Linked DNA regions of Homo sapiens: regions 2, 3, 4, 5, 6 and 7 are each linked to region 1. Evidence: promoter capture Hi-C in 16 types of primary human blood cells and fetal thymus (Javierre and others, 2016). All regions are on one chromosome and are shown on one strand. Each heading gives the region's core, a stretch centred on a gene start or on the middle of the fragment in contact. The rest is flanking DNA. Distances are from core to core; before and after follow the strand shown.

Region 1 (2,847 bases), core at 171-2,670:
CAACTACAATGTAATTGGAGGGAAGAGCCGATGTTGGACGGCTATCACACGTGGCTTCACACTGTTCTTTTTCTTCTCTGGCTGGGTACGGCCTGAGGATGACTGCCCTCCAACAACTGAGGATGCTGCAGGAGGACCAGCCCAGCACCTGTCTCCATCCCCTGCACTGTGTGGCCGGCTCTGCCGCTTCTCCCCCGCTTCAGCATCACCTGCCACTTCTTCTCAATCTGAAGCCACTAAGAACGATCAACACCAGACCGTTAAAACATAAACCAGTATGGGCCACTAAATAATTCGTAAATATTTCAAAATGTATTTCAAAACCGACTTTGTATTGTCAAAACATTATAATCTAGCCAGGCCAAGTTTTAATAAACAGTAACACCCATCATCACTACTGGGTAAAGAACTTCATTCAACAGGACCTACCTTGACACCAAGTCTAGAGCCTCGTTTTCAATTAAAAAAAAAATGGGTAAGCCCCAAATGTGCATTAAAAATTAGTTTGGCCATTTACTAAGTAGTCCTTCAAAGCATTTCCAAGTATTCAGAGTTCCAGTACTTTTCGGAAAGGAAGGGTGATCTTTCTGGTACTGGTTTGCATAATTATGCCTAAAAAATGTCATCTTGAATTTTCAATGAAAAGAGTCTTAAAATGTTCAGGCGAGTGGAGAAAATGGTGATCCGCTGGCGTTAGAAGTGGACAGAGAGGCTCTCAGTACAAACTGTATCTGAACGTGTTCCTCACAAATTAAGATCTGCACCGGGGGCTGGGGGGCTTTGAGAAAACTAACCACATTTGAATCCGGTCCACACAGCTTGAAGGCGGAGGTACGGGGCAAAGCGCGGCGGGGAAGAAACACCAGCAACTCGGCGGCCCCCGCCTCGCCGCAGATCACGTGCCCGGCGCCCCCTCCCGCAGGGCCGGGGGCGGGATGGAGACGCGGCCTCCCGCGCGCCTTCCGCACTCCCCTCCGCGCCCCAAACCCAGGGGTAGGGGTGGTCTCGGGTAACCATCCCCAGGGCGGCGGCGAGGGAACTGCGCGGGTTCAGAGTCCTCAGCAGCCACCACTGACGCCCCGACGCCCCCGGCTCCCCGCGCACCCCGCCGGTCCGTCCTGCGGCGGCGGCGGTAGGGGCCGCGTCTACGTGGCGCGGTCGCGGCGAGGCGGGGACTGGGACGCGAGGACCGGGAAGCGGGGACCGCGGCGCGAGGAGGGGCGGCTCAACCCGCGCCGCCCCGGAGGGTCCCGGCCTCCGGCAGGACAGCCCCGGGCCCGCGCCAAGGGAAGCCCCCAGGCGCAGACACTCACCGCCAGCCCCGGAGGGACGCCTGCGAGGAGCCCGGCCCGCGCCCACTTACCCACAGGGGCTCCGCTCCCGGCCAGCGGGCGGCTGAGGGCAGGCGGCGGCTGGACTGCGACGGCTAGGACCCGCCGGGGAGGGAAGCCGAGGGGGCGGGGCCGGTCGGGGGCGCGCGCGGGGTCGGAGCGCCCGCAGCCGCCGCTGCCTTGGAAGCCGCCTGGGCCGCAGCTGAGTCGGGCGGCCCTCATGAATGGGACGCCGCGGCTGCGGCGGCCGAGCCGGCAGCTGGCGGGCGGGCAGCGCGCAGGCCCCGCCCCAGCCACGTGACGCGCGCTCCCGGCCGCGCGCCGCGCCCCCGCCGCCGAGCGCCAGGCGTGCGGCTTCTCACCGCTCCCAGTCCCTGGGCTGCGCGCCCGGGCCCCTGGCCAAGTGAGGGCGGGGCCTCGATTTTCTAGTGCCTCGGGCGACAGGAGCCTTACTTTGTTTTAAAAAAAAAAAGTTTCTTCCGGTCCCCATGGCAACCCTGCGGCAGGTCACGTGGGACTGAGAGCCCAATTGCCAAAAAGGAATGTTAAAGTGCAAAAAAAGTCTAGGGAATGAATGTTTTATAATCCCCTTTTGATCACTAGTAGCACATCTCCTTTGCTTACTTACATCTCCACCGAAAAAAAAAAAATCCTATTACACAACTCATTTTTAAAAATATGCCGGGGTTCTGTTGTTTTTTGTTTATTCTTTTTATCGCTCTGTTACCCCGGCTGGTCTCCAACTCCTGGGCTCAAGCATCCCCGCACCTCGGCCTCCCAAAGTACTGGAATTACAGGCATGAGCCACCGTCCCCAGCATTAAAATATACTTTTTAAGAAATGGGTGGCTCACGCCTGTAATCCTAGCACTTTGGAAGGCCGAGGCAGGCGGATCACTTGAGGTCAGGAGTTCAAGACCAGCCTGGCCAACATGGTGAAACCCCCGTCTCTACTAAAAATACAAAAAACCAGCCGGGCGTGGTGGCGCGTGCCTGTAATCCCAGCTTCTCAGGAGGCTGAGGCAGGAGAATCAGTTGAACCCGGGAGGCGGAGATTGCAGTGAGCCGAGATGGCGCTATTGCACTCCAGCCTGGCGACAGAGAGACTCCGTCTCAGAAAGAAAAGAAATGGGGCCCGGCGCGGTGGCTCACGCCGGTAATCCCAGCACTTTGGGAGGCCAAGGCGGGTCGATCGCCTGAGGTCAGGAGTTGGAGACTAGCCTGGCCAACGTGGCAAAACCCCGCCTCTACTAAAAATACAAAAATTAGCCGGGCATGTTGGCTGCAATCCCAGCTACTTAGGAGGCAGAGGCGGTAGAATCACTTGAACCCGGGGGGCGGAGGTTGCAGTGAGCAGAGATTGCGCCACTTCACTCCAGCCTGGGAGCGAAACTCTGTCTCAAAAAAAAAAAAAACAAAAAAAACTGGATTGCTGGTGCTATATACTATTGGTGCACACTGGTTTTTAATTTGCAGCCTATTCTATTACTATTCTATGATTGAAAGTAATGAACAGA
Region 2 (3,120 bases), core at 514-3,013, 300 kb before region 1:
GTGAGTTATAAAGAAGAAGAAGGAAGTAGAAAGTGGCTTTTCTTCTTGTATAGCTAATGATGCAATCATTTTGATTCTTACTGAATTTTGATTCTTAGGGGTTATCCTGTCTTCTAAAGGTAATTTGTACTATAAACAAGTAGAAAAAAAAAATCAACAAAAATTTGACAGTTTCTGGCTTTTAATTCCAAAAGGTTTTTTTTTTTCTTCTTCTTTTTTTTCAGTAGCCACAGGAATGGTTAGGGAGGAAAAAAATTTTTAGATGATTAATCGTAAAGAATTCCAGATTTAACCTTTTAAAATATATCAGCAATAAATATTTAAGTTTCTAATAACTCGTATCTTTTTAATTAAGATCATAATTAACAAAGTTTGTGGAACATTAATATGCTGGTTTCATAACAGGCTCCCTGATAGATTGTCAGTAACTTGGCCTGAAGGAGATGAATTATTGCCTAATGAGGTTAGGCCTGCTGGAACCCCTATTGGTATGTTTGTTTATTTTTCTAATACCAAAAAGTGTGCTTTTCTTTTGTCTTACATTTCCAATATGTAAAAGGTCACGAGATATTAAAATGCAATGGGAAGATTTGGCAGATTCAGCAAATTTTTGGGTGTAATTAAGATACTTTTAATTTTTGACTCATAGGTGCGTTAAGAATTGAAATACTGAATAAAAAAGGGGAAGCAATGCAAAAGCTTCCAGGAACAAGCCATGGAGGGTCAAAGAAACTCCTGGTTGAGCTCAAAGTTATTTTACATTGTAAGTATACAAACTAATTTAGATCTTTAATATTGTTTTTAAAATATAATATCAAATTAAATATCTTCATGTAATTATTGATGACCTAGCAATCTGATAGGCATAGCAAATTTTATTGAAGTTAGGAATTTCAGGAATGTTATGAATAGCTCATTTTCTTGGTGGATATTTTTCTAAGGTTTTTAAAAAATACTTCATCTTGAATTTTTTCATGTGGGTAACTGGGCTAAAGTAAAGGCATGATACATATATGTAGAAGAATTTGCAGTAGGAATTTCTATAAGCATATATGTATTATTACAGTTCTAATAATTACAGTAATAATTACAGTATTGATTACAGTATTATTAGTCATCCAAAACAGGTTTCACTGAGCTAAAATTAAAGTGTCTTCAGGACTGCATTTCTTCCTGGAGGTTCTGGGTGAGCCTTGCCTTTTCTGCCTTTTAGAAGTTACTCTCAGCTGGGCTTGGTGGCACGAGCCTATATAGTCCCAGCTACTCGGAAGGCTGAGGCAGGAAAATTGCTTGAGCCCAGGAGTTCGAGGCTACAGTGAGCTATGATCACGCCACTGCACTCCAGCCTGGGTGGTAAAGTAAGACCCTGTCTCTAAAAAATAAATAAATCACACAGAAGCACCACTCTCATTCCTTCATCTTCAAAGCCAGCAGTGCAGCACCTTTCATGACCTTCCTGCTTTTTTTTTTTTTGAGACAGAGCTTCGCTCTTGTTGCCCAGGCTGGAATACATAATGGCACAATTTAGGCTCACTGCAACCTCCGCTTCCCCTGTTCAAGCAATTCTCCTGTCTCAGCCTCCTGAGTAGCCGGGATTACAGGCACATGCCACCACTCCCAGCTAATTTTTGTATTTTTAGTAGAGATGGGGTTTGATGGGGTTTCATCATATTGGTCAGGCTGGTCCCTGCTTCTATTTTCAATAACTTCATATATATATATATATATATATATATATATATATATATATAACATATTAACATGAAATTTATGAAGTGGCATTAAGTACATTCATATTGTTGTGCAACCATTACCACTATCCATGTAAAGCATTTTTTCATCATTTCAAACTGAAACTCTATAGTAATAACTCTTCATCACTCCTTTCTCCCTGCCCTGGTAACTACTTTTTAACTTTCTGTCTCTGAATTTGACTATTTTAGGTACCTCATAAAAATGGAATTATATTTGTCCTTTGTGTCTGGCCTGTTTCGCTTAGCATAGTGTGTCAGAATTCCCATTCCTTCTTAAGGTTGAATAATATTCCCTTGTGTGTGTATATATGTGTATATGTGTATATATATATATATATACACACACACATGTATACACATACACCATATTTTGTTTATCCATTTGTTTGATGGATACTCAGGTTACTTTCACCTGTTGTCTATCGTGAAGAATGCTCCTGTGAACATCAGTGTACAAATAGTTCTTTGAGTCTCCGCTTTGGTTCCTTTTAGATACATTCCCAAAAGTGGACTTGCTGGGTCATATTATTATTTAATTTATTGAGAAACTGCCGTACTGTTTTCCACAGTGGTTGCCTCATTGTACATTCCAGTTTCTCCATGTCACCCCCACTTGTTATTTCCTGTGGGTTTTTTTGTGGGGGACGGATAATAGCCATCCTAACAGATATGAAGTGGTATCTTACTGTGGTTTTTTCCCCCCTTTTTCCTACTAAAGATAATTGTGGTTTTGATTTGCATTTCCCCAATATTCAGTGATTTTGGCCATCTTTTTATGGGCTAATTGCCATCTGTATATCTTCTTTGGACAAAGGTCTATTCAGGTCCTTTGGCCATTTTTAAATTTTGTTGTTGAGTTGTAAGAGTTCTTTATAATCCTGGATATTAATCCCTTATCAGATAAATGATTTACAGATATTTTCTTCCACTCTGTGGGTTGCTTTTTCACTTTGTCAATGGTGACTGTGATGCACAAAACTTTTTAATTTTGACAAACAATTAGTTTCTTTTTTCTTTTGTTGGCTGTGCTTTTGGTGTCTTATCCAAGAGATTGTTACTAAATTCAGTGTTACGAAGCTTTTCCTGAATGTTTTTTCCTTACAAATTTTATAGCTTTAGCTCTGTTGTTATTACTTTGATCCATCTGACCTTGACTTTTGCATATGGTTAACTTCTTTTTATATGGAAAACTTCTTTTGCCTGTAGATATCCAGTTTTTCCAGCACCATTTGTCAAAGACTATACTTTCTCTATTGAATTGTTTTGGCCCACTTGTTGAAAGTCAGTTGACCACATATGTGAGAATTTATTTCTGGGCTCCCTGTTCCCTAGGTCTATATGTCTGTTCATATGCCCATGCTGCACT
Region 3 (3,114 bases), core at 79-2,578, 290 kb before region 1:
GTACTACATTGTATCTTTACTAATTCAATATGTGCTATTTTAATTTTACATTATATGTATTATATCATTTTCAGTGTTTAACCCATTGGTATCACTTATTAATACTTGTTGGATCAATTTTCTTTGTAAAAGAAATCCATTGGAATTTTTTTCTGTTTAGTTTTTTATATTTAAAAAATATTTTATTAGAAAACTAGACATGCCAATGTCACATAGGAAAGCAAAAACACATTTGCAGCTTACTTGTAGGCAATTGAGGGGAGTTAAAAAATAATTTTTTTTCCCCAGTGGTTTATCTTTACATTATGAAGAAATAACCAAAGGACCAAATTGTGTAATTCGAGGTGTTACAGCCAAGGGCCCTGTAAACTCTTGTCAAGGCAAGGTAAGCATTATGTATAGATCCTATGATACTTGTTAAGTATTTATTTATCATATGGTAAGAATGAAATTGTAAATGAAAAGTGGAATGACCTATTTTTAAAAAACAGATGACAGTAATTGGGTTCTTAGGAATTTATCAGCATTATGCCACCTGACTTATCAGTTACATCTGTAAGAAAAGTTGGCACATTTACTACTGTTGTTGATTAAACATGAATTAAATATTTTTCACCTCTCCCCGTTATCTATACTTCAGTTTTTTCACATTCAAAGCCATTTTTTCGACATAGTTATCTAGGACTCTGCTGTTTTTTTTTTTTCTCTCTCCTACTGTTTCTGTCCACTTTTGAATATTTTTCTTAGAACAAAAATGACAATTAGAAATATGAGAAATTTCAGCTCACATCTTTAAACATATCACTTTGGTATTTAGATAAAAGGAAGTGTTTGGTGAGAGATACAGTTAAGGAAGGAATCCTATGCATAGTTTGTTGGTCTAAAAAAAACAGGGAAGCTAAAGATAGAAACTCTAATAAGGTAATTTTTCAGTTAGGTCTATAAAGCAGCTAATAGACTTAACTGACTAAAAGGAACACTGTAGCAAGTTTTTTTTCAGTGTATCATTACTTTAAATATTTAAAAATTTTCCCTATCCGTGTGATGTTTAAAACAGAGCATGTGTATTTTTTTCAAGTACTATATGCTGCTTTGTATAATCAAGTCAAAAATTGAGTTCTTGATTCTTTCTGAATTCAGATTTTTCTGGAAAAAGAACTTGAAATTCACAGAAAATTTGACTTTAGTAAGATAAACTTACTAAAAATTTCTAGATTTTAAAAACCTTTTTATTTTGAAATAACTTTAGAGGAAATTACTTACAAAGGAGTTCGAAGATAGTATAGAGAGGTTACATGTAGAAAGTTCCTCTGTTAATGTCTTACAGAGCTTTATATATTTATCCACACATTGACAAAATACTACTGACAAAACCGTGGACTTTTTTTTACTTGTCTCCAGTTAATTTATTTTTCTGTTCCATGAACCAATATGGAGTACCACATTGCATTTCAAAATTTTCTGGTTTTTGTTTCTTTCTACTTTACTATTTCATATGTTTTATAATATCTATCTTGATTATGATAATTATTCAGAGGTTATGCCTTTTGAGAATAAAAATTTAAGAGAAAAATTGATCCTAAAATGATATTCCTATTTTGGAAAAGTAGATTCTACCATAATTCTCTTCCTTTCACTGTCTATAAGGAAGCAGTATTGATCAGTTTTTTTCCTCTAAGATTTCTGACTCCATATATGATAATTTTAGTAAGTATAAAGTTGGTAAGTAATTTCTACAATGGTATGAAAATAAAACCAAAATATAAATCAGAATTGATGTGATAAACTACTTAAGTATGTATTCAGGACTGGGTTTAATTTTTACTGTTTTTTTCCAACAGAATTATAATCTGAAGGTTACTCTGCCTGGCTTAAAAGAAGACTCACAGATTTTGAAAATTAGATTACTACCTGGTAATATTATTTCAAGAAATATAATTATTTAAAATAATTTTCTTATGTTAAAGTATAATGATATGAAGTTAGAGGTTTTTGGGCTTTTAGTAGTGGTGTAAATCTTGAAAATACACTTAAATGTCAAACCATAGCACTGACAGAAATGACCAGTTTTTAAAAAGGAAAACATTTAGGAAGATGTTATTGACATTCTGAATATAACCTTGGGAGAAAAATTTGGATATTGAAAATGTTTGGGGAACTGTTTCTTGGAATATGTCTATTAGGCTTTATTAGAGATGGGTCTGTTCTTTACATTTTGTTGATAAAACTGTTTCATATTTTAAGAAGAAAAACTTCTAATGTTATTTTTATTAAGTTAACTTGATAATGACTTAACCTGAGAAAATGAAGTTGCATTAAAGTTACGTAGGGTAGAATATGCTGGCTAATTTGAGAGGTAGTCTATGGTAGAGATTTTAAGTACATTCTGGAGTCAGCCCTTCTGGGTTAGTATCTAGGTAAACTCGTTCTATGCCTCAGTTTCTTCATGTGTAAAATGAGATAATATCTACTCCCTTGGGGTTGTTAGGAGGATTAAATGAGTTACTACAGGTAGTCCTTGCCTTGCACAGTTCTGTAGTACTCAATGGAGGACACAGTTCCAATATGCGTGAGTTTTCATTAACACCTACTGTACCAAGTAAGAACTGCCTGCACCTGTAAAACACAACAGTGTTTAGCATGTAAGTTTTAACTCTCATATGAAAGATACCACAACCATATCTGTGTGCATATGTGACCTTTTTACTGGTTTTAAGCAAAAAGAAACATATTAGCTATTTGCTTTCACAAATTGAAGTTGTTTGACATTTCCCTCCAGTGTGAATTGTTGAAAGAATTTAGGTAGGTCCATTGGTGGAAGTATAAGAAAAAAATCATACGTATCAACAAACATTCATTTATTTGAGAGATTAGATTATTAAAAGTATGGATTTGAGTAGTACAATTCTTAGTAGCTAGATAGTTCTTTTTGTGGGGTAAATAGGAAGTATCATGGTGTAGTGATAAAAGTCAAGGAGTTTCAAATTGCAAACCAGAATTTAAACCTATGTTTGCTACTTACTAGCCTTGTGACCTGGACAAAATACTTAATTTCTCTGAATCCCAGTTTCCTTACCTGTAAAATGGGGATGATGATAATAGTAACGTCTTCAT
Region 4 (3,116 bases), core at 195-2,694, 340 kb before region 1:
GGCAACAGAGTGAGCCTCTCTCTCTAAAAAATAAAAATAAAAATAAAATTTTCTTTGTAGAGATGGAGTCTCACTATGTTGCCCAGGCTGGTCTTGAATTGCTGGCCTCAAATTATTCTCCTGCCTTGGTCTCTCAAAGCCGTGGGATTATAAGCACCTTGATTTTCTTCTTACCTCACTGCCTGCCCTTTCTTCTCTCCCCACCTTATTAATATTGAAGTGCCTTAGGGCTTAGTTCTTGCCCTTTATGTTGTATCTTACTTCCTCACTTGGTGATCAGGTCCTATCTCATGGTTCTAAATAACATCATTACAGAAGTGACTCTCACAAGGAAGAGGTAGGAAATGGTCATTTTTAGTTAAATATTGAAAATGGTGCCGGGTTTATCTCTTGAAGTCCAGTTTTATCCATCCAGCTGCCCATGTGGCATCTCCTCTAGGATGTCTAAAATGGGAACCCTCATCTGCTCACTGAATTTTATACCACACATAGTTCCCCCTATCTGAATTGATTATTACTGTGTCCTTCCTGCTGCACAGGCCAAAAATCAAATTGATACTTGTATTTCTCATACCTCTCATACCTCTTAATCTGACAGAAAATCCTTTGGGTCCTATTCTCAATGTTTTATCTTAAAATGACCATTTCTCACCATTTCTATTGCTACCACCTGGTCTGGAGGCACCATTGTATCACCCAGATTACACTAACTAGTAGTTACTGGTACCTGTCTTTTCATCCCTGTCCATAAAAGGTTTGAGAAATTGGATTGTGTCACTCGCTGCTGAAAACACCCATGGCTCCCCATTTCACTAAGAGTAAACACCAAAGTCGTTACAGTTGCCTGCAGGGACTTACTAGCTCTGCTTTGTACTTCTCTGACTTTGTTTCTACTACCTTTCTTACTTTTTCACTCCCCTTCACTGCCATCCATATTCTCAGCTTAGGGCCCTCTGCTTGGAATGCTTTTCCTCCAGTTAGCCCTGCACTCATTTCTTCACTTCCTCCAAGTCTTGGTTATCTGTTGTGTTCTCAACAAAACTTAGTCTATTTAATTGCAACTGTATTCCTTCTGTGTCTTTACTGTTACTTGATTTCATTTCTCTGCTGTTTCTTTTTTCTCTATTGCACAAACCATCTTCTAACATGCTATAGAATTTATTTATTATGATTATATTTTCTTTCCCATATTCCTCCATTAGAATGTTAAATCCCTAAGAACAGAACCTTCATCTGCTTTATTCAGTTCCTAGAACAATGCCTGGCACATAGGTGCTTAAATATTTTAAAATTGAGTGAATCTGGCTGGGCTCACGCCTGTAATCCCAGCACTTTGGGAAGCCCCGGCGGGCAGATTACTTGAGGTCAGGAGTTCGAGACCATCCTGGCCAACATGGTGAAACCCCGTCTCTACTAAAAGTACAAAAATTGGCCAGGCGTGGAGGTGGGTGCCTGTAATTCCAACTACTCGAGAGGCTGAGGCAGGAGAATCGCTTGAACCTGGGAGGCGGAGCTTGTAGTGAGCTGAGATCATGCCACTGCCACTCCAGCCTGGGCACCAGAGGGAGACTGCATCTAAAAAAAAAAAAAAAGAAAATTGAGTGAATCTTTTAATTCTTTTTTTTTTTTTTTGAGATGGAGTTTGGCTTGTTGCCCAGGCTGGAGTGCAATGGCGTGATCTCGGCTCACCGCAACCTCCGCCTCCTGGGTTCAAGCAATTCCCCTGCCTCAGCCTCCCAAGTAGCTGGGATTACAGGCGTGCACCACCACACCTGGCTAATTTTGTATTTTTAGTAGAGATGGGGTTTCTCCATGTTGGTCAGGCTGGTCTCAAACCCCTGACTTCAGGCGATCTGCCCGTCTCGACCTCCCAAAGTGCTGGGATTACAGGCGTGAGCCACTGCACCTGGCCCATGAATCTTTAATTATTTTCCTGGGGATAAATTGCTAAGTGTATAATTATAGAGTCAACAGAAGTATTTTAAACTCTTAATGTAGTTTATGTTTCATATTGATCAGTTTTCATCATGCCATCATTATGAAATGATATGAAAACCCTATCAGTTGAAACCATATCAGTTGAAAACCGTATCAGTTTTCATTCATACCATCATTATATGGATAAGCAGAAAACCCCAGTGTTTAAAATCTTGCCTTGATTTCTGTGACTTTACAGTACATTCCCGGGTCTTTCCCTACTTCTGTTTCCCTACTTCTGGTTCTTTTTGACTCTGGTGGACATTTCTTCAAGTTATGTTGATCTTTTCTTTTCTTTTTTTTTTTTTTTTTTGAGACAGAGTCTCGCTCTGTCGCCCAGGCTGGAGTGCAGTGGCACTATTTCGGCTCACTGCAAGCTCCGCCTCCCGGGTTCACGCCATTCTCCTGCCTCAGTCTCCTGAGTAGCTGGGACTGCAGGCGCCCACCAGCACGCCTGGCGAATTTTTTTGTATTTTTTTAGTAGAGACGGGGTTTCACTGTGTTAGCCAGGATGGTCTTGATCTTCTGACCTGAAGATCCGCCCGCCTTGGCCTCCCAAAGTGCTGGGATTACAGGCGTGAGCCACCGCGCCTGGCCTTGATCTTTTCTTTTTATACTTTCAGTAAACTGATCCAAGCCTTAACTGTTGTACCTGTGTGATGAAGCAAATTTCTTTTTCCCCTCTTCTTTTTCATCTAATCAGATTCTAAATTCTACTCATTTCTTCCTTCCAAATTTCTCTTTAGGTTTCTTTTCCTGCCATTTCCTACAGTGTCCCTTCTTCATTTTCTGGAGTTATTACCTTAGCCAGATTACCCTTGTACATAATCTGATTTGTGGTAACTTCTTTGCAATTCGTTTATAAACATAGCTGTCCTTGGAGTGTTTAGGGTGAGTAGAAGTGCTTGCTGGAGTGCTACTTTGGTTTTTTTGTTTTTGTTTTTGAGATAGAGTCTCGCTCTGTTGCCCAGGCTGGAGTGCAGTGGTGCAATCTTGGCTCACTGCAACCTCTGCCTCCCAGGTTCAAGCGATTCTCCTGCCTCAGCCTCCCGAGTAGCTGGGATTATAGGCACCAGCTACCACGCCCAGCTATTTTTTTGTATTTTTAATAGAGATAGGGTTTCACTGTGTTGGCCAGG
Region 5 (2,987 bases), core at 257-2,756, 330 kb before region 1:
TTTCACTTAGCATAATTTTCGAGGATCATCCATGTTGTAGCATGTATCAGAATTTAATTCCTTTTTATGGTTGAGTAATTCTCCACTGTACAACCATACTGCGTTTTGTCTATCAGTTCATAGATTAATGGACACAAGTTGTTTCTACCTTTTGTCTTTTGATAATGCTGCTATGAACATTTGCATGCAAAATCTGAGTCCCTGAACCAGTTTATGTTTACCCACATATTTACCATATTTACTAGAGCTTGTATTCATTCCTTTGTGTAAATCTGTCCAGTATTGTTTTCCTTTCTGAAGCTCTTTCTAAACATTCTTTTATAACTTGAGTCTGTTCTTGGTGAATTTTTTTCAGATTTTGTATGTCTGATAGGCTCTCTCTCTTCCCCCCAAACCCCAAAGATAGTTTTGCTGAGCATCTGTTTGAGCTTGACTTTCAAAAAATTTAAGTACAAGTTGAGCATCTCAAATTCAAAAATACAAAATCTGAAATGCTCCAGAATCCAAAATTTTTTGAGCACCAATGTGACACTTAAGGAAATGCTGCTGGAACATTTCAGATGTTGCATTTTCAGACTTGGGATGCTCAGGTGGTAAGTATAATGCATCTATTCCAAAATTGGAAAAGAAATCAGAAATCTGAAATACTTTTGGTCCGAAGCATTTTGGATAAGGGGCACTCAAACCTGTATGTTAAATATGTCACTCAATTTTCTACCAGCTTGCATCGTTTATAAGGAGAAATCTGTTGTCAGTCTTATCTTTGTATCTCAAAACATATAGTCTGTTTTTCTCTGACTTGTTTTAAGATTTTTTTTTTAAATCATCAGTGTGTATGCTTTGTAGCATTGTGGTGTGTGTTTCTGTTGAAAGTAGTTGTGTGTTTGTGTATTGTGTGAGGTGTTTTGTATAAATGCAAACTTGTGTGGGGAGGCATTTTCTGTGTGTTATTTTGTGTCGACAGTTTGTGTATGTTGTGTGGGGATGTGATTGTAGATGTTGGGAGGGTATTGTGAGGGGATACTTTTTTGGGTGCTTTTGTTGTTTTGTATCTCTGGTATTACAGTGTCCTACCTGGTCAATGTTGTCTTTATTTTGATTATTTATATATGAGGATAGGACTTTTTATACCAATTAAAATGTTTTTGTTTATCCCATTCTTTCTGTTTCTGTTTCTTCTGTTTTCTCTTAAATTTATTGTCTTCTGCTGTTTTGTTTTCTTGCTCCATCTTTTTCTTTTTAATATTTTAGACTTTATATCTTCTCTGATCTTCTTTGAAGTTTTAACATGCATATTTAACTTTAGATTTCAGGATTTAAAATATTTTCCTTCCCCCAACTTAAGGACTTCATTAGCTTTGGTCACTCCCTTCCTGAAATGACACTTTTGTTATTGAAGGTATTTAAAGTGTGACTTTTTAGAAATTCAACAATATGCACACACCAGTTTTTCACCACACCAGTAAATGTCTCATATGTAGTCCTTAAAAAAATTACTTTTGTATGTGTTGTATTATGGTGACCTCTTGTATGTTAGATTGTGCTTGTAGGAACATTTCTTTAGAACAAGTCTTCTGGTGGTAAATTACTTTGGTTTTTATCTATAAATTGTTTATTTTTCTCTAGTTGACAATTTTAGGTTAACAGATTTTTTTCAGGCACTATAGAGATAATATTCCTCTCTGTCTTTTACTGTTGCTGTCAAAGCCTGCTCATCTGTTTTGTCCTGTCTTATCTCTTAGTCTATTTTCTAGTTCTTCTGTTTGGTTTTTGGTGTTTACAGTGATGTTGATTTCTTTTTATGTATCTTGTTTGGGCTCTTTTGGTTTTCCTGGATCTGTGAAGCCATGTCTTTTATTGGTTCAAGAATATTTACAGCTATTTTCCATTCTCTGTCCCTTCTCTTTCTAGAGCTGCATTTAATCTTGTGCCAGATATTTTCCTTTGGTCATTTATGTCTTTTAACGCCACTTTGATATTTTCAGTTTTCTTTTCTTTCTTTGTTTCCTGTGGTTACGTTCTTTGCATCTTTCTGTTCTCTAATTCTCTCCAGCTATGTCACACCTGCTCTTTAATCTTTCCATTGAGTTTAATAGTGGTTCCAGCCTCACCTTCATTCTGTTTATTTCTGATAATGGGGGATGATGTCCCCGGAGACTTTGCCTACATTTTGAAAGACCAGTGATGCCTCTTCTTCAGAATATTGTTATGGTGCACTGTTCCCTCAGAGCTCTTCATTTATCATGATATATGGAAGTGAGACTCTCCTTTGCTCTAATTACCATTATTCTTCAGACAATATTTTAGCAAGTTTTGAAGTAGCAAACAGTTTTGAAGGAAAGTTTTAGAGGCATGAGGATAATAAAAATACTTATTTAGTCCTGTTTGCTGAGAGATTTTCTGATTTAGTAGGATTGAGCCCAAGAGTTTGCATTTCTTAAAAGTTTTCAGCTAAAGCTGATGCATCTGGCCTGGGGACTACACTTTGAGATGCACTGGAGTAGATGTCTTGACACTGATTATTTCACCTTTCAGTTAGGGGTGTTTGCAGGCGTGATCATTTTATTAACACTGAATACAAGTGCAATGAAAGTTTCTTTTGACACTTAACTAGCTTGTTTAAAATCACTGCATTAATGTTTTATTTTAGTGATCATTCAGGATATGTTCGTCCAGTACCAGTGCCACGCAGTTTAAATAGTGATATTTCCTATTTTGGTGTTGGGGGCAAGCAAGCTGTCTTCTTTGTTGGACAATCAGCCAGAGTAAGTAAAAAGATTTCTTATAAATGAAAGTTGATCAAAATATTTTGAAGTTGACTCTGTCTAAATGCATTAACCAGTTTATTAGGAATTTAAAAAGTACTCTTTTTAATATTTAACAGATGATAAGCAAACCTGCAGATTCCCAAGATGTTCACGAGCTTGTGCTTTCTAAAGAAGATTTTGAGAAGAAGGAGAAAAATAAAGAGGCAATATATAGTGGAT
Region 6 (3,134 bases), core at 380-2,879, 360 kb before region 1:
CTTAGGCATTATAGGTTAAACACAAGTTATGATTGAGTAATGATTATGGAAAATGTTCCCAACATTTAGAAAAGAGGAAATAATATACCATGGAACCAAATATTCTTTTCTGGTAAATGAAGCAGCTACAGAAAGCTTTTCCTACTTGTTCAAAAGTAACAAGTGCTATTGATGAAAAAAACCCCAACAAATACCCAAAACAAACAAACCCCAAAAACTCTTTTGATTCTACTTCAAAACAAGATTTTGCAGTAGAAAATAGATTTCATTAGAAAATAGCTGGCCAGGCAGGGTGGCTCACGTCTGTAGTCCCAGCACTTTTGGGAAGCCAAGGCAGGAGGATCACTTGAGCCCAGAGTTTGAGACCAACCTGGGCAACATAGTGAGACTCTATCTCTATTTTTTTAAAAATAGAGTATTTCACACTAATAAGAAAATCAAGACCTAGGTTTTACACACACACACACTATATGGCAGTATACTGCAGTGCAACAATTTTTGAGTTTCATTTTCTGGACAGGAATGCCAAGTTAGTCTCTCTTCATAAAAATAATTTGCAATTTGAGGACACTTCGTGTTTGCCCCTTTGCGTTTGCCTCTTTGCCAGCACCAAGTCAGCCTCGTCTGAGTCTTTGCATTCCATTAGAAACATTAATTCTTCACTGCAGTCTGTGGCACCAATTCTTTGCTTAGGATCAAGAGTTCTGGCAAAGTCTCCTGGTTTTTCAGCAGCATCCCTTTCATTTGCTGTCATCAGATTCACTCTCGGATAAAGATTTTCTTTTTGTACTATCTTTTCCTTTACCAGTTTTTTTGAGGATTAAGAAATAGTTCAATGAACTCAGGAAAATCTAAGTTTTCTTCAGGTTCTCAATTATTGTCAGCAAGTGTAAATCCTTTCCGCTTCAGGGAATATTCCACCTTCCCATTCACCACACCTTGGTGTAGTACTTTTTCCACCACAAAATCCTCAGGCTCTGCTTCATCAGCTTTTATACCCTTTCCACTAAGTCTTTTGTCCCATTTTTTTGCAATGTACAGTGGCCCTCAGTATCCTCGGGTTCCGCATTCCTGGATTCTATCAACCGAGGATAGAACATATTTTAAAATCACAATAAAACAAAAAAATACAAATGAAAAACAATACAGTATAACAACCATTTACATAGCATTTATATTGCATTAGGTATTATAAGTAATCTAGGATGTATGTAGGTTATATGCAAATACTTCGCTCTTTTATATGAGGGACTTGAGCAGCCTTGGATTTTCCTATCCATGGGGGTCCCGGTCCAGAAACCAATTTCCCAAGGATACCAAAGGACGACTGTAGTTTTACTGGAGGCCATTTTTAATTGCAGACATGAAGAGCTATTGTTCACCATCTCGTTCACCATCTCTGAGCTGCACCTGGTCTGGGTCTGTGGCATCTCAAATCCTGCCTGACTCAAACTTGAGCTACATGCAAGGAAGAAGGGAATGGGGAACTTCTTCAGGGGCCACTAAGTTTTGGGGAAGTTCGTTATGTAGCAATAAATAACTGATACAAGGCCACTTAAATATTTTACTCTGTAGTAAGATAGCTAATTAACAAAAACTAAGAGTCAATTGAAGAGAACTCATTAAGGAAGTGGGTCATTTCAAACGCTTTTATTTACTTGTGATGACAATTAAATAAAGAACAAACTCGTCATCTTTCTTTGATGAAAAAATTGTTTGATATTCTGAGAACAAAAGTGATGCCATACTGCCATTAAGAAACTGATTCAGACTCGATCTCTCAACAAGGTAAGACATCAATGTTCCCATCAAGAGCTGCCCATAATACTGCAGTACACTTCTCTGGCACCATTAAAAAAAAAATCTCTTAGAGATGATCCTGAAATCTCTTCTAAAGACATGAAAGAGGTGTGCTTGTATAATCTGGTATTACAAAGAAATGAGAAATTGCCCTGATGACGAATCTCCAGCTCTAATCTCAATTTGCTGAAGTAGAGAGGCAATTCATCTTACCCATTAACTAAGAATTAGAAAAACAATTTGTGTTTTTCTTTGAGTCATTTAACTCAAATACCACTATATAAAGGAATAGAATGAGACATTCGCATGAATTTGAAAGGTAAATAAAACATCAGACTTCAAAGAAATTCCATTAGAATCGGGGGTTACTTTTTTGTTTTCTTTTCCTCCACCTCCACCTTAAGGAACATGAACGGCATTTGGCCACAGTTTATGTCTTTCCAATTTTATCTTCCACCATCTACCGCTCAGTTCTCCTCACTTCCAGCCAAACAATGTATGTTCCCCAAACACGCCTTCACAATTTCGTTCTAGTTGGTGTCTACCTCTAGTATATGTGTAGTCAATTTATACACACATTCCCCACGATCTTGAAACGTCTTGACATCCACAAGCAAATCTAGGTTTCTAACATAACACTAACTTTGTAAGTCTGTCCATATAAGGTTTTAGCAAACCTAGTAAAACAGAAAACGCACTATTATCCAGGCTTATATTCTGAGATTTGAAAAACCCCTCTATCTGCTACCTTTGGGTTTCTGAATTTACATACCACTCTCAAGTATACAGTATTCACGATTTCTAAGAACTGGAGAGTAAACCTAGTCCTCTAACAATGGCATTTTATTTGTTGAGTTAGGGCACTACCTGCCCACGATGAGGATAGTTAATGAAACGCTGCCCGGTAACGACGATTAAAGGCTTTGATTGAAAACGTATTAGGCCTTAAGAATTTTGCGAACATCTAATTTAACCCTAGTAACTGTGGCGTGGGTTCTTTCAGAATTTACACGCACGTGGGAGACCGCGAAGCGCAGGCAGCGTTAAAACTAGGGCGCTGGAGTCACCCCCGTACCCCGAATGCCGTCGGCGCTCCAGGGCCCCCAGAGGGTGCGGGGGGCGGGGACGCTGTGACGTCACAGAGCGCCCTTCTGACGTTCTCACGGACCCGCTTTGCCTCGGGGGCCCACGCTGGAGCCCACCCAGTACTACTAAGAAATGAGGAGGAAAAAGGGGCGCCGGCTCTCGTAGCGCCTATTTTCTCGGCAGAGGGACCCACGTGCTCGCTTTGGTGGACTCTGCGCCCGGCGAGTACCGCCGGCCTGAAGCTTCCC
Region 7 (2,854 bases), core at 284-2,783, 290 kb after region 1:
ACACTAAGATCTCAGACTTAACTATACAATTCATCCATGTAACTGAAAACCACTTGTACCCCAAAAGCTATTGAAATTGTAAAAACTGTATATAAAAAAAAAAATAAAATAAAATCTCAGAATCCAAGCAAAGTCCACACATTGCATCTTATTGAAGGTCTCTTAATCTCTTTTACTTATTTATTTTATAGACAGGATCTGACTCTGTCACCCAGCTTGGAGTGCAGTGGCATGATCATAGCTCACCTCAGTCTCAAACTCCTAGACTTAGCGATCCTGCCGCCTCAGTCTCCCTAGTAGCTGGGACTACAGGTACACATCATCATGTCTGGCTAGTTTTTAAAAATTTTTTGTAGAGATGGGATCTTGTCATGTTGCTCAGGCTGTCTTACCTCTTTTAATCTATTTATTACCTTCTCTCTTTTTCTTTTGGTTGTAATTTATTTGTTGAAGAAATTGGGTGCCTTCTCCAATAGAGTGCTACTTCTCAAATGCTAAAGTGTATACAAACCACCTGGGGATCTTGTTAAAAAGTAGATTCTCCAGCCTGGCCAATGTGGCAAAATCCCGTATCTACTAACAGTATAAAAATTAGCCGGGCGTGGTGGCGGGTGCCTGTAATCCCAGCTACTCAGGAGGCTGAAGCAGGAGGAGTTGGGGGTTGCAGTTGAGCAGTGAGCCGAGATTGCACCACTGCACTCCAGCCTGGGCAACAAGAGCAAGATTGCGTCTCAAAAAATAAATACATAAATAAATTAGTAGATTCTGCTTTAGTGCAGGGATCTGCAGTGGGTCTGAGATGTGGCATTTCTGGCAAGCTCCCAGGTGAGGTGGATGCTGACCATCCATGGACCACACTTAGAGTAGCAAAGTCTAGAGCTGCCTGCAGTCTGCATTCTGATGGTTGCATCATGATGTCATTACCATATTTTTCTGTTCCCTCTAAACTGATGGTTGGATCTTCTGAACTGCATGGAAACAACCTTCTTTTCTGTAACTTTTAATGTTCTTTCCAAAATATACATTTGAACAATTTGGAAGTTTTCCACTGGTATCTTTATAGTTTTTGGTATAAAAGTTATGGTAAGTGCCCTATACAAGTGTACCATTTTTTAGTCTTTTCTGTCATATTTTTACTCTACCTTTTCTATGTTTAGATACACAAATACCTATCATTGTGTTATAGTTGCTGACAGTATTCAGTACAGTAACATACTGTACAGGTTTGTAGCCTAAGAGCAGTAGGATATCACGTATAGCCTATGTGTGTAGGAGGCTAGACCATCTAGGTTTATGTAAGTATACTCTATGACGTTCATACAGTGTCAAAGTTGCCTACCATGTGTTTCACAGAACATGTCCTGTGGTTAAGTGACTCATGGCTGCATTTATTCAGGGCCTAGGGTTTCCGTGCACTCTCATACTTGGCAGGCACTTGGTAGTCTGGATGTGTTTTTTCATTTACCGGCTGAGGCATGAATGCAGCCCGTGCATTTACCTGTGTGCAGGAATGTGGTGTTGGTGCTTTTGTATACCGCACCATTCACATGCCAATTAGGTTGAATTTTCAGATTAATTAGATGAACTTAGAGTTGCCAGGCTCCGGAATAATTGGATATCAGACAAGAAAAATGGAAACAGAATTTGTAAGTGATTTACAAGTTTCAGTACTTTGTTTTCAGTCATGAAGCCAAACTTTACCAAGAAGAGAAAAGATTCAACAGTGGAACATTTGAGCACAGTGGCCAGAGCTTTCTGGGCCGTGGAACCTTGGGCCCCTGACCTTTCAGGCTGGGTTGTCTCTTGTGGCCCTAATGTTTGCAGCAAACCGGTGGCTTGGTTGTAAATTTCATCTTTCTATGGGCTTCAGTCATTCAGAGGGCAAGCACGGACTTCTAAGGATTAGAGGGAGCCTCCTTGTTCAAATGTTTATGTGATTTCCTCTTCCAGCCACAGGTTGCTTCGTACTCACACGCAGCAGATAAGGCTCTGGTTCCTCTCCCTCAGACCTGAGCTCATCGCTTCCTCTGCTCTGTTGCTTCTTGTCTTCTGTCTCCTCTGGCCCTCGCCCAAGGTCAGCCTGCTGCCGAGTGTGTGTTATTGGCATTCCCACACATTTTGAGAAACCCTGTAGTGTTTCCACCGCATTAGGGTATTTAGGTTACAGGAAGAATTGGTGATGTTGAATTGAGGTCTTTTTTCATTACGATTACTCTTCTGTGAGCAGATAGAGTCATACCTGACACCGATCCATTTAAAAATCTGAACAAATTTTACTGATGCTCTAAAAAGTACAGGTTTCTTCTTGAGCCCAAATGACATTTTGTCAGAAATGGAATACCAATTTTATTCACTGGGGAGGTGACTCTGTCCCCCCAAACCCTCCCTATCCTTGTCCCTCCTGATCCACTGGGAAGTCATAAAGTGGCTTCCACAGGCAACTGAAATGCGTTCTGAATCATCCTCTCCGTCCTCTCCCGTGGGGCAGGTAGCAAGAGTAACAGGAAATAACAGGCACATATCAAATCACATTGCTTAGGTTGGAATCTCAGAACTAGGGGAAAATGTAAGTTTCAATTCCTGTCTCATTCCAAAATAAATTCAAGGCAGCATTTCATGTAAAATATAAAGTAAATATATATTACTTTAAATTTTGGACAAAATTGTAAACCCTTTCAAGCCTCATGTTTATCACCTGTAAAATGGAGAAAATACGAGCACACGCTTCACAGGGGTGTTATGAGCAGTGATTATTATAGCTCATGGTAAGCACTTAGCATAGTGTCTGGCTCATTATAAGTGCTCAAGAGACATTAGTCATTCATATTTCTCCAAGTTTCATTGATCAATATTC

What was found. The method cuts DNA at HindIII sites, captures the fragments that hold promoters and counts their contacts. A CHiCAGO score of 5 or more calls a contact.
Region 2: a fragment that was not itself captured here is called in contact with the fragment with the promoter of LPIN2 in region 1 in 2 of 17 cell types (activated CD4 T cells and total CD4 T cells); the score reaches 7.4 in activated CD4 T cells.
Region 3: a contact is called between a fragment that was not itself captured here and the fragment with the promoter of LPIN2 in region 1, in 4 of 17 cell types (activated CD4 T cells, total CD4 T cells, neutrophils and 1 more). The highest score is 7.2, in activated CD4 T cells.
Region 4: a fragment that was not itself captured here is called in contact with the fragment with the promoter of LPIN2 in region 1 in 1 of 17 cell types (activated CD4 T cells); the score reaches 5.3 in activated CD4 T cells.
Region 5: a contact is called between a fragment that was not itself captured here and the fragment with the promoter of LPIN2 in region 1, in 5 of 17 cell types (activated CD4 T cells, total CD4 T cells, non-activated CD4 T cells and 2 more). The highest score is 7.3, in activated CD4 T cells.
Region 6: a fragment that was not itself captured here is called in contact with the fragment with the promoter of LPIN2 in region 1 in 4 of 17 cell types (non-activated CD4 T cells, naive CD4 T cells, neutrophils and 1 more); the score reaches 7.5 in non-activated CD4 T cells.
Region 7: a contact is called between a fragment that was not itself captured here and the fragment with the promoter of LPIN2 in region 1, in 1 of 17 cell types (naive CD8 T cells). The highest score is 5.1, in naive CD8 T cells.

The regions. Positions count from the first base shown.
Region 1 is chr18:3,011,724-3,014,570 of GRCh38, forward strand. LPIN2 (lipin 2) reads right to left here and starts at 1,421. Exons shown (of 20, transcript NM_001375808.2): 1 at 1,364-1,421. RefSeq lists a silencer at 862-1,811. The HindIII fragment of the contact is 8,581 bases long and covers 1-2,847 here.
Region 2 is chr18:2,707,158-2,710,277 of GRCh38, forward strand. It overlaps SMCHD1 (structural maintenance of chromosomes flexible hinge domain containing 1), which reads left to right. Exons shown (of 48, transcript NM_015295.3): 16 at 406-488; 17 at 650-763. Among named protein-coding and RNA genes, the nearest start is that of SMCHD1, 53 kb to the left of the region's middle. The HindIII fragment of the contact is 2,132 bases long and covers 698-2,829 here.
Region 3 is chr18:2,724,611-2,727,724 of GRCh38, forward strand. SMCHD1 (structural maintenance of chromosomes flexible hinge domain containing 1) reads left to right here. Exons shown (of 48, transcript NM_015295.3): 21 at 289-385; 22 at 1,842-1,914. Among named protein-coding and RNA genes, the nearest start is that of SMCHD1, 70 kb to the left of the region's middle. The HindIII fragment of the contact is 5,322 bases long and covers 1-3,114 here.
Region 4 is chr18:2,669,324-2,672,439 of GRCh38, forward strand. All of the region lies in intron 3 of SMCHD1 (structural maintenance of chromosomes flexible hinge domain containing 1), which reads left to right. Among named protein-coding and RNA genes, the nearest start is that of SMCHD1, 15 kb to the left of the region's middle. The HindIII fragment of the contact is 3,598 bases long and covers 1-3,116 here.
Region 5 is chr18:2,685,744-2,688,730 of GRCh38, forward strand. It overlaps SMCHD1 (structural maintenance of chromosomes flexible hinge domain containing 1), which reads left to right. Exons shown (of 48, transcript NM_015295.3): 6 at 2,651-2,765; 7 at 2,885-2,987. Among named protein-coding and RNA genes, the nearest start is that of SMCHD1, 32 kb to the left of the region's middle. The HindIII fragment of the contact is 3,334 bases long and covers 1-2,987 here.
Region 6 is chr18:2,652,225-2,655,358 of GRCh38, forward strand. It overlaps the pseudogene CBX3P2. Among named protein-coding and RNA genes, the nearest start is that of SMCHD1, 1.9 kb to the right of the region's middle. RefSeq lists an enhancer at 1,681-2,310. The HindIII fragment of the contact is 2,993 bases long and covers 134-3,126 here.
Region 7 is chr18:3,304,137-3,306,990 of GRCh38, forward strand. No RefSeq gene overlaps it. Among named protein-coding and RNA genes, the nearest start is that of MYL12-AS1, 43 kb to the left of the region's middle. The HindIII fragment of the contact is 5,888 bases long and covers 1-2,854 here.